3 separate regions of the Homo sapiens genome follow, and regions 2 and 3 are each linked to region 1. The links are contacts of gene promoters, found by promoter capture Hi-C in blood cells and fetal thymus (Javierre and others, 2016). All regions are on one chromosome and are shown on one strand. The core of a region is centred on a gene start or on the middle of the fragment in contact, and the rest is flanking DNA. Distances in the headings are between cores, read along the strand shown.

Evidence for each region. Contacts are between HindIII fragments. The CHiCAGO score rates a contact against its expected background, and 5 or more counts as called.
Region 2: a contact is called between a fragment that was not itself captured here and the fragment with the promoter of ZNF571-AS1 in region 1, in 1 of 17 cell types (monocytes). The highest score is 5.2, in monocytes.
Region 3: a contact is called between a fragment that was not itself captured here and the fragment with the promoter of ZNF571-AS1 in region 1, in 1 of 17 cell types (naive B cells). The highest score is 5.5, in naive B cells.

Annotation. Positions count from the first base shown.
Region 1 is chr19:37,547,264-37,550,961 of GRCh38, forward strand. ZNF571-AS1 (ZNF571 antisense RNA 1) reads left to right here and starts at 1,686. Exons shown (of 6, transcript NR_038248.1): 1 at 1,686-1,892; 2 at 3,599-3,698. LOC124904708 reads right to left here. Exons shown (of 2, transcript XR_007067248.1): 1 at 629-3,698. The HindIII fragment of the contact is 14,204 bases long and covers 1-3,698 here.
Region 2 is chr19:36,881,350-36,885,047 of GRCh38, forward strand. It overlaps a transcript of ZNF345 not described here. Among named protein-coding and RNA genes, the nearest start is that of ZNF345, 32 kb to the left of the region's middle. The HindIII fragment of the contact is 832 bases long and covers 1,520-2,351 here.
Region 3 is chr19:36,981,256-36,984,953 of GRCh38, forward strand. It overlaps a transcript of ZNF568 not described here. Among named protein-coding and RNA genes, the nearest start is that of ZNF568, 67 kb to the left of the region's middle. The HindIII fragment of the contact is 491 bases long and covers 1,851-2,341 here.

The DNA.
Region 1 (3,698 bases), core at 436-2,935:
GATCCCAACACTTTGAGACACCAAGGCAGGCAGATCACTTGAGCCCAGGAGTTTGAGACCAGCCTGGGCAACATCGCAAAACCCCATCCCAACAAAAAAATACAAGAAATTAGCTGGGTGTGGTGATGCACACCTGTGGTCCCAGATACTCAGGAGTCTGAGGCAGGAGGATTATCTGAGCCTGGAGAGGTGGAGTCTGCAGTGAACCATAATTGCACCACAGCACTCCAGACTGTGTGACAGAATGAGACCCTGTCTCGAAAAAAATCTTAAATTTATGTATCTTAAGAATATACATTAATATAGAGTTTAAATATCAAATAAAGAGGGTTTTTTAAAGTTGAAACAATGTATCAGAGGATAAAAAACCATAAAACATTTGTTTAAATTTAAAGGATTTGTTTAATCTGCCCTATTAATTGCAATTTTCACAGTTAACTAGTACTATTTTTTATTTAAATAATAGTATGTATGTAACAGAATAGTAAAGATGTAACCTGTGGATGCTGTTTTACAGCAGCAGAAACTGGAACACATGCAGTCTCATGATTGTCCTACTCTTTTGCCAGATCATTGCATTGTCTGCCCAGGCACCCCTCATCCCATCTCTCTCCATCCCTTTTCTTACCTTTTCATGTTCCTTGTCTTTTCATGACAGCATTTATCAATGTCTGAAAGTAGAATGTTGTTGATTGACTCTCTCTTCAACTAGAACATAAGCAATGAGCGGCCCAGCCTTTGTCCCACACACTGCAGTGTGTCCCACTTCTAAGAAAGTGTCCAACACACAGCAGGAACTCAGTCAGCATTTCTTGAATGAATTAAGTGAAGTGATGCATACAGGCCACATTCTGAGCTGCTGGAGGAGCCAGTAGTTGATTACCAAACTCTAGTCCTTTATCTTGGTGTCCTGATGTCCTGACTGATACACAGTTTGTAGGCAAATAGCTGGTGGGGTTTAGTAGTATGGGATAGAATAAAGGGAGATGTAATTGGGACACTCTCCACATTATCTGCCCCCATGAAAAGCTAGTTCCAGGTGTTGCCATCTCTGCCCCACACTGGGCTTGCCTTAGTCCTCGTTCCCGCCTTTTCCAGACAGCAGTGCTGAGAAGCAGGAGCCCCTGAGCTTGGAGACGCAGGAAGAGCCCTGGGAGGCCCAGATCAAAGGGAGGCAGTCAGCTCATGGAGCCGAGGAATGTTCTGCTGACACCCACCCCGAGGGTATCCGGTATGTTTCTGTGCACCAGCGACCCCTCCACACCTCACCAGATTGGTTCCCCAGCCCCGTGGGACCCAATTCCGGGTCAATTCCAATTTGATTCCAGTCCAGAATCAAATCAGAAGAGCAATCCCGAGTGCCCACCTCACGGTCTGAAGCACCTCCTCCTACACCCGGACCCAAACACGAGGTCGGCTCAAGGAGGCACTGAGGTCACGACAGTCAGGGTCCTGCGCTGCTTGTCGCATGCAGTCTCCTTCCCCGAACCGCCGCCTGCACGGCCTCCACTGTTTTCCTATTGGGCTGCAGCCTGAGAGCCCTGACAATGCGGCCCACAAACCGGGAACGCGAAAGTGCACGTACCAGGCGCGATCACCAGGCGCTAGCGCTGAGGGGGGACTCGCGTCACAGTAACCGCCACCGTTGCCGGGGGACTGGCCCCAGCGGCTTGGCCCCCAGGCGTCTGTGGCAGTGCGTCCCCTCTCCGCGGGATCGTCGCCATGGTCCTGCGATCCTAGGAGTCGGGCAAGGCCGAACCTGCCTGAAGAAACCTCAAGCGGAGATTCAAGGAAGCACCACGTGATCCCTAAGGATCCCAAAGATGCGTCGGGCATGCATGGGCGGTGTGAGGGTGCGTCTCCCTGACAGGTGTCCCCGCTGGGATTTCGAGGTACGGCCTGCCTGTGTTCCCCGGGGCGCTCTCTTTCCGGAGGGGTTTCCTGGCAGAGAGCAGAACCGCGCAGCCTCAGGAGCTGCCTGGCTGTGTGTGTTTCTGTGCGACTGTTGGATGTTTCCGTGTGTCTTTCTGTGTGTGCGTGTGAGTGTGTGTGTGGTGTGCGGTGAAAGAAATGTGGCTCGTGCAGTGAAGCGCGGTTTCTCTGTAGTTCGCCTACGCTCTGATGCGCCCGTCTCTTTGGCCGGGCTTGGGTTGCGGGGCAAGCGTTCTTTGTTTCGCTCTTGGTTCCTAAAGCCTCGGTGAAGTGGGGGGCTGGCTGCGACCCGCAAACGTCCAAATCACCTCCCCTCCCAAGCCGCCCACTCTTCCAGAAAGAAGACCAGCACACGACAACCAAGAACAAATTCCTCCAGGGGCCCATGGTCCTGCGGCACACCCAAGGCTGGACGGACCCTAGCTGTCCTGTCCTCAGTACCCCCTTGAGCCCACTTCTAATTCGGTGGCTGGCGGAGTCGCAGCTTCAGGACCTGAGGCGGGCACTCCTTCATCCTCTTCAGATTTCATTCTGGATTAAAGGATGTGTGCAGAAAAAAGGTCAGATGGGGGTGAAGATACAATCCGCTGAGGTGTGGAGGAGGTCTCGCACCTTCACCTGCAGAACAGGTGCAGACAGATGTCAAAGAAACTGTTTCCAACGCCATCCCCTTTTCCTCTTCACTGTACAACCTGTCCACACCATGGCGCTGTGCTGGCGATAGAAGACACGAGTGTTCGGAGAACCTTTGGACCGAAGACTGTCGCCTTTCTGGCCAGGTCCCCTGTTGGACCCTGGTTCCCCGAGGCACATGGGAGTGGGATGGATTGATCCTGCCTGGGCTGCGGCCTCTACTCTGTTCTCCCTCTTTTCTTGCCTTCCCTGATTCTCGTCGGCCCAGGTTTTCCTTGGTCTGGCTCACAGTCCTCCAGAACGTCCTTCACAGCAAATGTTTCCCAGTTCGTCCAGGACCACCTTGGCGGGGACGTAGGTGATGAGTGTTTCCTTCTCAACACTCACATTTCTTAATGACTGGGTAGCTGTGATGCTCTTGGAACCGTGGGTGCCCGTAGCTTTCCCCAATAAGGAAACTCTTGGTCTCCCCATTGCATCAGATGGCTGCATGATTCACATAGAATGAGAGGTAGCCAGCCGTAGCTGGCCTTTGCCTTCTAATGAAGGCTATGTTTCATCTCATCTGCTGGTGTTTTCTCATTGTTGAGGGGTCTCCCATTGCTCTGTTCCTGGCTGGGACTGCCTCTCAGCACTGCACCTTTTCGTTGCCAGGGATTTCACGGAGCAAAAGGGACTGGGGGTTAGCTGGGTGTAGACCCGGTGGTGGGTTGTGATCCCGGTGTGGGTGCTGGATCACTTTGCAGGATCCTCTTGGCTCCTCTGGCAGGAATCCCTGGAGGAGGCTTGGACTCCGGCACAGGCCCTCCTATGGTTTCAGGTGTGCTTTGCTTGTGCTTCGCTTTCTTGGGGGTATCCTCAGTGGCCCTCGCCAGCATGCCTGGATATCCCTTTTGGGCTTGGATTCACCCCAGAAGGCCTCTGAGACACTCTCTCCACATTTTCTGCCCCCATGGGATGCCAGTTTTAGGTGTTGCCACCTCTGCTTCACATCGGGCTTGACTTTGTCCTTGTTCCCGCCTTTTCTGGACAGCAATGCTGAGAAGCCGAAGGCCCTGGTCTTGGAGACCAGGACAGGGCCCTGGGAGGCCCAGGTCGAAAGGGGGCCAGTCAGCTCATGGGGCGAGGGAATG
Region 2 (3,698 bases), core at 686-3,185, 670 kb before region 1:
TATTACGATTACATGTAACCTTTTAATAATTATTTTGAAAATTGAACATTTTAGTAAAAGGATTTTAATCACCAGAACTGACTCAAAGTGGCATAGAAATGGGTATTATATAAGGGATATAAAGCAAAAACTATATCTAGGAAGGCTGGGGAAAAAAACCCTGTAGCCAAAGTCTCTTTTATACCCCCCAGTCAGGTCCCTTGAGTGAATATTCTGGCATTCAATCACATTTTGCATTGGAAAGAGCAAAAGATGAAAATATATCAGCATTAGTATATTTTATGTCTTTTTAATTTGAGGTAATTAGATTTTTTAATTTTTAAAAAGAATGGAATAGGAATCATTAAAAACAGACTAAAGTAACATGAAATCTTAAGATGCTACATATAAAATACATCACTTTAAATATGAAACTAATTTTTAAAGTCCTGCAGATTAATCTGTTGGAGATATATATTGAAACCCACTTTCAGAGACATTAAAATGCGGGGTAAAAAGTGCATTTTAGAACTGATAAACTACTTCATCAATGATTTTAATGGTTCCTTTTCTTTAGATTTTCAAATTCGTTGATATTGGCAAACAGAATTGGCTTTCAGTTTTCAGTCTCTGTATATATATTTGTATTTCTACTCATAGTTTTATTTTTAAACCACTTTATTCCTCTAAATTGATTTGAAGGAGTCCCATTCATTTTACTTGTTTTTTTTTTAAAAAAAACCTTATCTGGGTTTTCTTCATGCTTTTGACTATTTTTGTTTGCTTTTTCTATTTCAAAAATATATTTCACTATTTTCTTTTTATTTGTGTGTATTTCTGTTGAGTACATGTGCTTGGTTAATATATTTTCAGTCTCTTTTAAATTGGAAGCATTTAAGGCTACAAGATTTCCTTTGAATATTGCTGTATCTGGGGCCCATGGTTTTTTTTTCTTCTTGAGATGGAGTCTCGCTCTGTCACCAGGCTGGAGTGCAGTGGCGTGATCTCGGCTCACTGCAACCTCCGCCTCCCAGGTTCAAGTGATTCTCCTGCCTCAGCCTCCTGAGTAGCTGGGACTACAGGCATGCGCCACCACGCCTGGCTAATTTTTGTATTTTTTAGTAGAGACGGGGTTTTACCATGTTGGCCAGGATGGTCTCGATCTCTTGACCTCGTGATCCGCCCGCCTCGGCCTCCCAAAGTGCTGGGATTACAGGCGTGAGCCACTGCACCTGGCCCCATAGTTTTTTAAAAATTAACTTCTAGATAATTATTATTTTAATCTTGATTTCTCTTTGATTCACTAGTTACCTAGGTGTCTGTATGTTTGTGTGTGTTTCTAAATTTTCAAAAACCTGTGAAAAAAATTTAGCATATGAACTTATAATGTGTGTGATCTGTGAAACTTCATTAAAAAGTTAAAACATTAATTTATTATTTGTGGCCAAATATACGTTAGGTTTTTAATACATTTTATAGATATATGATGTGAAATAATATATATTCTCTATAAAACACAAAGTTCTACTTAATTATATTAAGCTTCGTGATTATATTATTTAAATATCCTCTGATTATTTTGTTTAATTCTGAAAAGTGGGCACAAAACGCCCAGCTATATTGTTTCAAGGTCTTCTGTTAATATAGGGGTTTTACTTTTTATGTTTGGTTGCTGTATTTTTCACTGTGATGTTGAATTCCAATTTCTCTAATATTGAAAATTCTGCTTTGGCCAGTAGAGCTGCACTAGGTCTGTTGTGTCAGCTTGTTCTAGGTATATATCCTTATAAACACCATATAGTTAGTGTTTTATTTTTAACCCAATTTGTTTTTGTATTTTAATTGGAGAACACCATATATCTATAGGCAGGCTTACTCAATTTCTATGAAATCACCTTTTAAAATATCTTTTTCTATTAAAGAGCAGAAAAGTAACTAAAATTCTCAAACTCTGTTGCTCTTTCCTATGTAGCTACTCGTCATGGTCATTTAATGCATCGTTTCTCTTCATCTCTCTGTTCCCTAAAGATTGAAGTTTTCTAAGACTCAGCCTCTGACACATTTACTAATTATACTTAATTGTTCCTTGGTGATTTCACCCCCGTGGGTTTGTTTCCCTTGAACTCCACACTCACTACGTTCAGTAGCCTTCTCTACACTACTTGAATTATTTTTATTTAGGTATATAAAATACTGGTGGCAATAGCATAAATTCTAAGTGTTAAACTTGATGAAGTAATATTGTACACCTATGTAAGCACTGCCCAGACTGATATACATTTACAGCCTAAGGAGGCTTCTTTGTGCTGCTTTGCTATTAATATTCCATTGCCCAGAAATAGCCCCTCTCCTAATTTCCATAACCAGAGATAAGCTTACATGTTTTTCCACTTCATGTAAATGGAATCGTACGCTGAACCCTTTTTGTGTCTGGTTTCTTTTGCTCAACATTATTTCATGCAACAATAAGGATGGCTCTCTCAGACATAATATTCATTTTTATTTATGTAGTGTTTTATGGGAATTGCACTGAGTTAGAGAAACTGAAGTCTGAAGGAATAGTTTCCACAAGACTGCCCTCATTTCAGACACCAGGCACAAGTTCAGAGGTTCCAAGGGCTACCCATACTTCAGACCAGCTGACTACAAATTTGGGACTTGTCATGACTACCCTTGATAATTCAGTATAATAATTCACAGAACTCAAGATAATACTATACCTATGATTACAACTTATTTATTTTTATTTTTTTTGAGACAGAGTCTTGCTCCTGTTGCCCCGGCTGGAGTGCAGTGGCACGATCTCGGCTCACTGCAACCTCCGCCTCCTGGGTTCAAGCGATTCTCCTGCCTCAGCCTCGTGAGTAGCTGGGATTACAGGCACCCACCACCATGCCCAGCTAAATTTTTGTACTTTTAGTAGAGACGAGGTTTCACCATGTTGGTCTTGAACTCCTGACCACAAGTGATCTGCCCACCTCAGCCTCCCAAAGTGCTGGGATTACAGGCATGAGCCACCGCACCTGGCCTATGATTACAACCTTATTATAGTGAAAGGATACAAATTACAACTAGCCAGAGGAAGAGACACATAGAATGAAGTCTGAGAGGGGTCCAAAGATGAGTCTTCTGGTCATCCTATCCCTATGGAGTCCTGGATGGCATTACCTCCTTCCAGCTACAATGTGTACTGATAAGTGTTGCAATCCAGGGAAGCTCACCTTAGCCTTTGGTTTCCAGTGTTTTTCTTGGGGTTTGATAATATACTGCCCACATAGCTGACCTTTGTCTTTCTGCCCTTCTTGCTGGTTTGTCTAATACTGTTTGTCTGCCATTTCCCCAGAAGTCAAAACTGAGATAGCATGCCTCAAAGCACTCATCATAAATCATGTTATACTGTCGGGTGGCCATCCAAAGCACCCAGCCAAACCAAGACACTGTTATTGGGCAGGACATTCCAGAGGCCTAGAGTACCCCCAGTGGGCCTCCCAGTACCCAAGGTAAAGGCAAGACCTCTCTTTGGGTGAAGTTAATTTATCACTATACAGGAATATACTTTGACTTACTCATTCTTTCGTTGATGGGTATCTGTATTGTTTCTACAACTCTGGGAACCTTCTTATACATGTCTTTATGTAGACATATTTACTCTTTTCTATTGGCAGTATACTTCAGAATGGAATTGCTGAGTCAGAGATAGGCTATATTTAGTAAATGTC
Region 3 (3,698 bases), core at 846-3,345, 570 kb before region 1:
CACATGCCTCTACTATGGTCCTGTTCTCTAGAAAGGTCTTAGCTGTTCCTAGGTTTTGGCTTCATATACATTTTAGAATTGGCTTATCAATTTCTGTAGAAATCCAGTTGGGATAATGATTTATAATGCATTAAACCTTCGATCAATTTGGGGAAAGTTGACATTTTTACGGTATTGAGTCTTCCTCTGCCTCTAAATAACTCTGCTTACTTGAGTCTTGTGGAATGGTTTTCAATAAATATTTTATAATTAGAGTCTTACACATCTTTTGTTAATTTTATTTCCAGGTATTTTTATATTTTGTGTTTTTCTTAGATGACATTAACTTTAGAATATAGACTGGGTGCTGTGACTCACGCCTGTAACCCCAACACGTAAGGAGACCGAGGCAGGCGAATCACTTAAGCCCAGCAGTTTGAGACCAGCCTGGGCAACATAGTGAGACCCCATCTCTACTATAAATAAAAAATTAGCCAGGCATGATGGTGCATGCCTGTAGTCCCAGCTACTTGGTAGGCTGAGGTAGGAGAATCACTCAAGCCCAGGAGGATGAGGCTGCGGTGAGCTATGATTATGCCACTACACTCCAGCCTGGGTGACAGAGCAAGACCCAGTCTCAAAAAAAAAAGTAAATAAAATAAAATATAATTTTCTCATTGTTTCTGGTATATAGACTTGCCATTGATTTTTTTTTTTCTTAAAACTCCTATGACAGATTATTGCAGTTGATTTTGAGATATTGATTTTATATCCCCCCACCTTGCTTAACTCTTATTTATTCTGACGTCTTGTAGATTCTTTTGGATGTGGGGTCATCCAACTTGATCATATCATTGATGAATAAAGATACTTTTTGGTTGTAAATAATTGTCTTTGTCTATTAGTATTGATTTCTTTTCTTCTTTTTTAACCTTTATTTTAATTCTTATCTTGCTGCACTGGCTCCACCTCCCAGAACAGTTTTGAATGGTGAATATGGGCACCCTGTCTTATTCACAGTTTTAGATACTTCACTTTTACTTATGTTTGCACTTGTTTTTTTTGTAGGTGTCCTTTATCAGGTTAGGGACGTTGCTTTTTATTGCTAATTCGCTCTTGAGTTTTTATCATGAAGGAATATTGCATTTTTAAAATGCCTTTTCTGCATCCATTGAATTGATTGGTCAGGTGTGGTGGCTCATGCTTGTAATCCCAGCACTTTGGGAGGCTTAGTCGAGCAGATCACCTGAGATCAGGAATTCGAGACCAGCCTGGCCAACATGGTGAAACCCCATCTCTACTAAAAATACAACAACAAAAAATTAGCCGAGCGAGGTGGCAGGTGCCTGTAATCCTAGCTATTTGGAAGGCTGAGGCAGGAGAATCGCTTGAACCTGGGAGGCAGAGGTTTCAGTGAGCCAGGATCGCGCCATTGCACTCCAGCCTGGGTGACAAGAGCAAAATTCCATCTCAAAAAGAAAAAGAAAAGAAAAGAAATGATCCTAAGTGTTTTCTCTTTAATCTGTTAACGTGCCTAATAATTTTAATTTATTTCCAGTATCATGTACACCTTTATTGGGAAAAACCTAACTTAGCCATGATGTGTGATGAATTTTTACATATTACTGGATTCAGTTTGCTAATAACTTGCTTAGAATTTTAAATCTGTGGCATGTGTAAGACTGGCCAGTAATTTCAATTCTTCATAATGTCTTTATACAAGTTACTCTATCCCAGGAGAACTGTGGCCTTGGCCTGTGAACCAAGATTGTTTTCTACATTTTTAAATGGTTGGGGGAAATAATCAAAAGAATTATATTTTATGACACATGGAAATTATATGAAATTCAAATTTTAGTGTTCATGAATAAAGCTTTATTGGAACATAACCACATTCATCCATTTATGTAACATCTATGGCTGCTTCTGTGCTGCATGGCAGAGTTGAGGAGTTGCAGCAGAGATGGTATGTCCCACAGAGCCTAAGATACTTACTATTTGGCCCTTGACAAAAAAAGTTTGCTGACCTCTGGTCTAGCCTCATAAAATATATCAGTTTTCCTTTTCTTTTTCCCATGGTAGGATCTGGGAGTACTCATGTTATCAATGGTGTGAGCAAGGCCACTCTTCAGATTATTTGTTTATTCCCTGTCTTCTATGCCATTTACTACCCGCATCCTCCCCCCGCCCATAAGGCAGTCGTGTTAATGTGCATCGTTTTCTTAGTATGTATTCATTCATGCAAAATGTTTTTCTCTTTTGTTAAGGTCCAGGGTGGTCAGTTTTTCAAAATCTTCCATATATGATTGAGAAGAATGTTATTTGAATTGAGTGCATTGTTCTATATGCAGCCATTAGATCAAGCTTAATTTAGTATCTAAATATTCTGTTTTTACTGACTTTTTGTCTGTTGTATCTATCAGTTATTTCTAGTGTTTTGTTAAAATCTGCCACTGTGATTAGGGTTCGTCTATTAGAGTTTCTATTTCATTTATGCATATGTGTATGTATATATAATATGTATTTATTATTTATTAGGTAAGCATAAAATTATCCTTTTCTAACTGTCATCTTTCTGAATATTTATGTTTTGGATGTGTCTCTAATAACCAGCGTAGAGCTGGGCTTTGGTTTTTGACAACTTTGACCAACTTTGTCCTTTTTTTTTTTTTTTTTTTTGTTGAGACAGAGTCTCGCTCTGTCGCCCAGGCTGGAGTGCAGTGGTGCGATCCCGGCTCACTGCAACCTCCACTTCCTGGGTTCAAGCAGTTCTCCTGCCTCAGCCTCCCGAGTAGCTGGGATTACAGGTGCATGCCGCCACGCCTGGCCAATTTTTTTGTATTTTTAGTAGAGAGGGGGTTTCACCGTGTTAGCCAGGATGGTCTCGATCTCCTGACCTCATGATCCCCCCACCTCGGCCTCCCAAAGTGCTGGGATTACAGGCATGAGCCACCGCACCTGGCGACCAGCTTTGTTCTTTAACGAGAGTATTTAGTCATTTACAGTGCTTGTAATTACTAATATAATTGAAGGTATCATTTTTGTGCTTTTAATTCTACCTTTTCTGTATTTCATTATCTTCATTTCATTTTCCCTTCTATGAGTTTGAAAGTTATAAGCTATTTGTGTTTATTTAGTGGTTACCTTGAAAATTTCAATATACTTTCTTAACTTACTAGTGTCTAAAACTAAAAAATATTATTATATTCTTGGTAAATAAGGAAGTAGGATATATTCTAACTAATCAAACAACTTACATTATTGTCAGGTATTTTTCTTCTTTTTTTAACCCATAAGAAATTTTTATTTTATGTATTGAGTGTTATCTTAGATTATCCATGTATTTACGACTTTCTTGGTTCACCATTCTTTCTTACATGTCAAGCTCTCCATCTGGGATCACTTTCCTTTAGATGGAATTAAATAGTAAATTTCTCTCTGATTTTGGTGTTTGTTTTTTTTTTAACATCTTTATTTGCCCTCATTTGTGAAAGGTGTTTTACCCTCACACTGGGATATTCCGCTGTCTTCTGGTTTACATTTTTGTTATTAAATAGTCATCTGTCAATCAGACTTTTTTTTTTCTGTAGATAATCTATCTTTAATCTCAAATTGCTTTTCACGTATTCTCTTTGTATTTAGTGCTCTGCAGTTTTGGTGTGATTGTCTAGGCATGGATTTATTTTTATTTATTCTGTTTAAGACTTATTGGGCTTCCT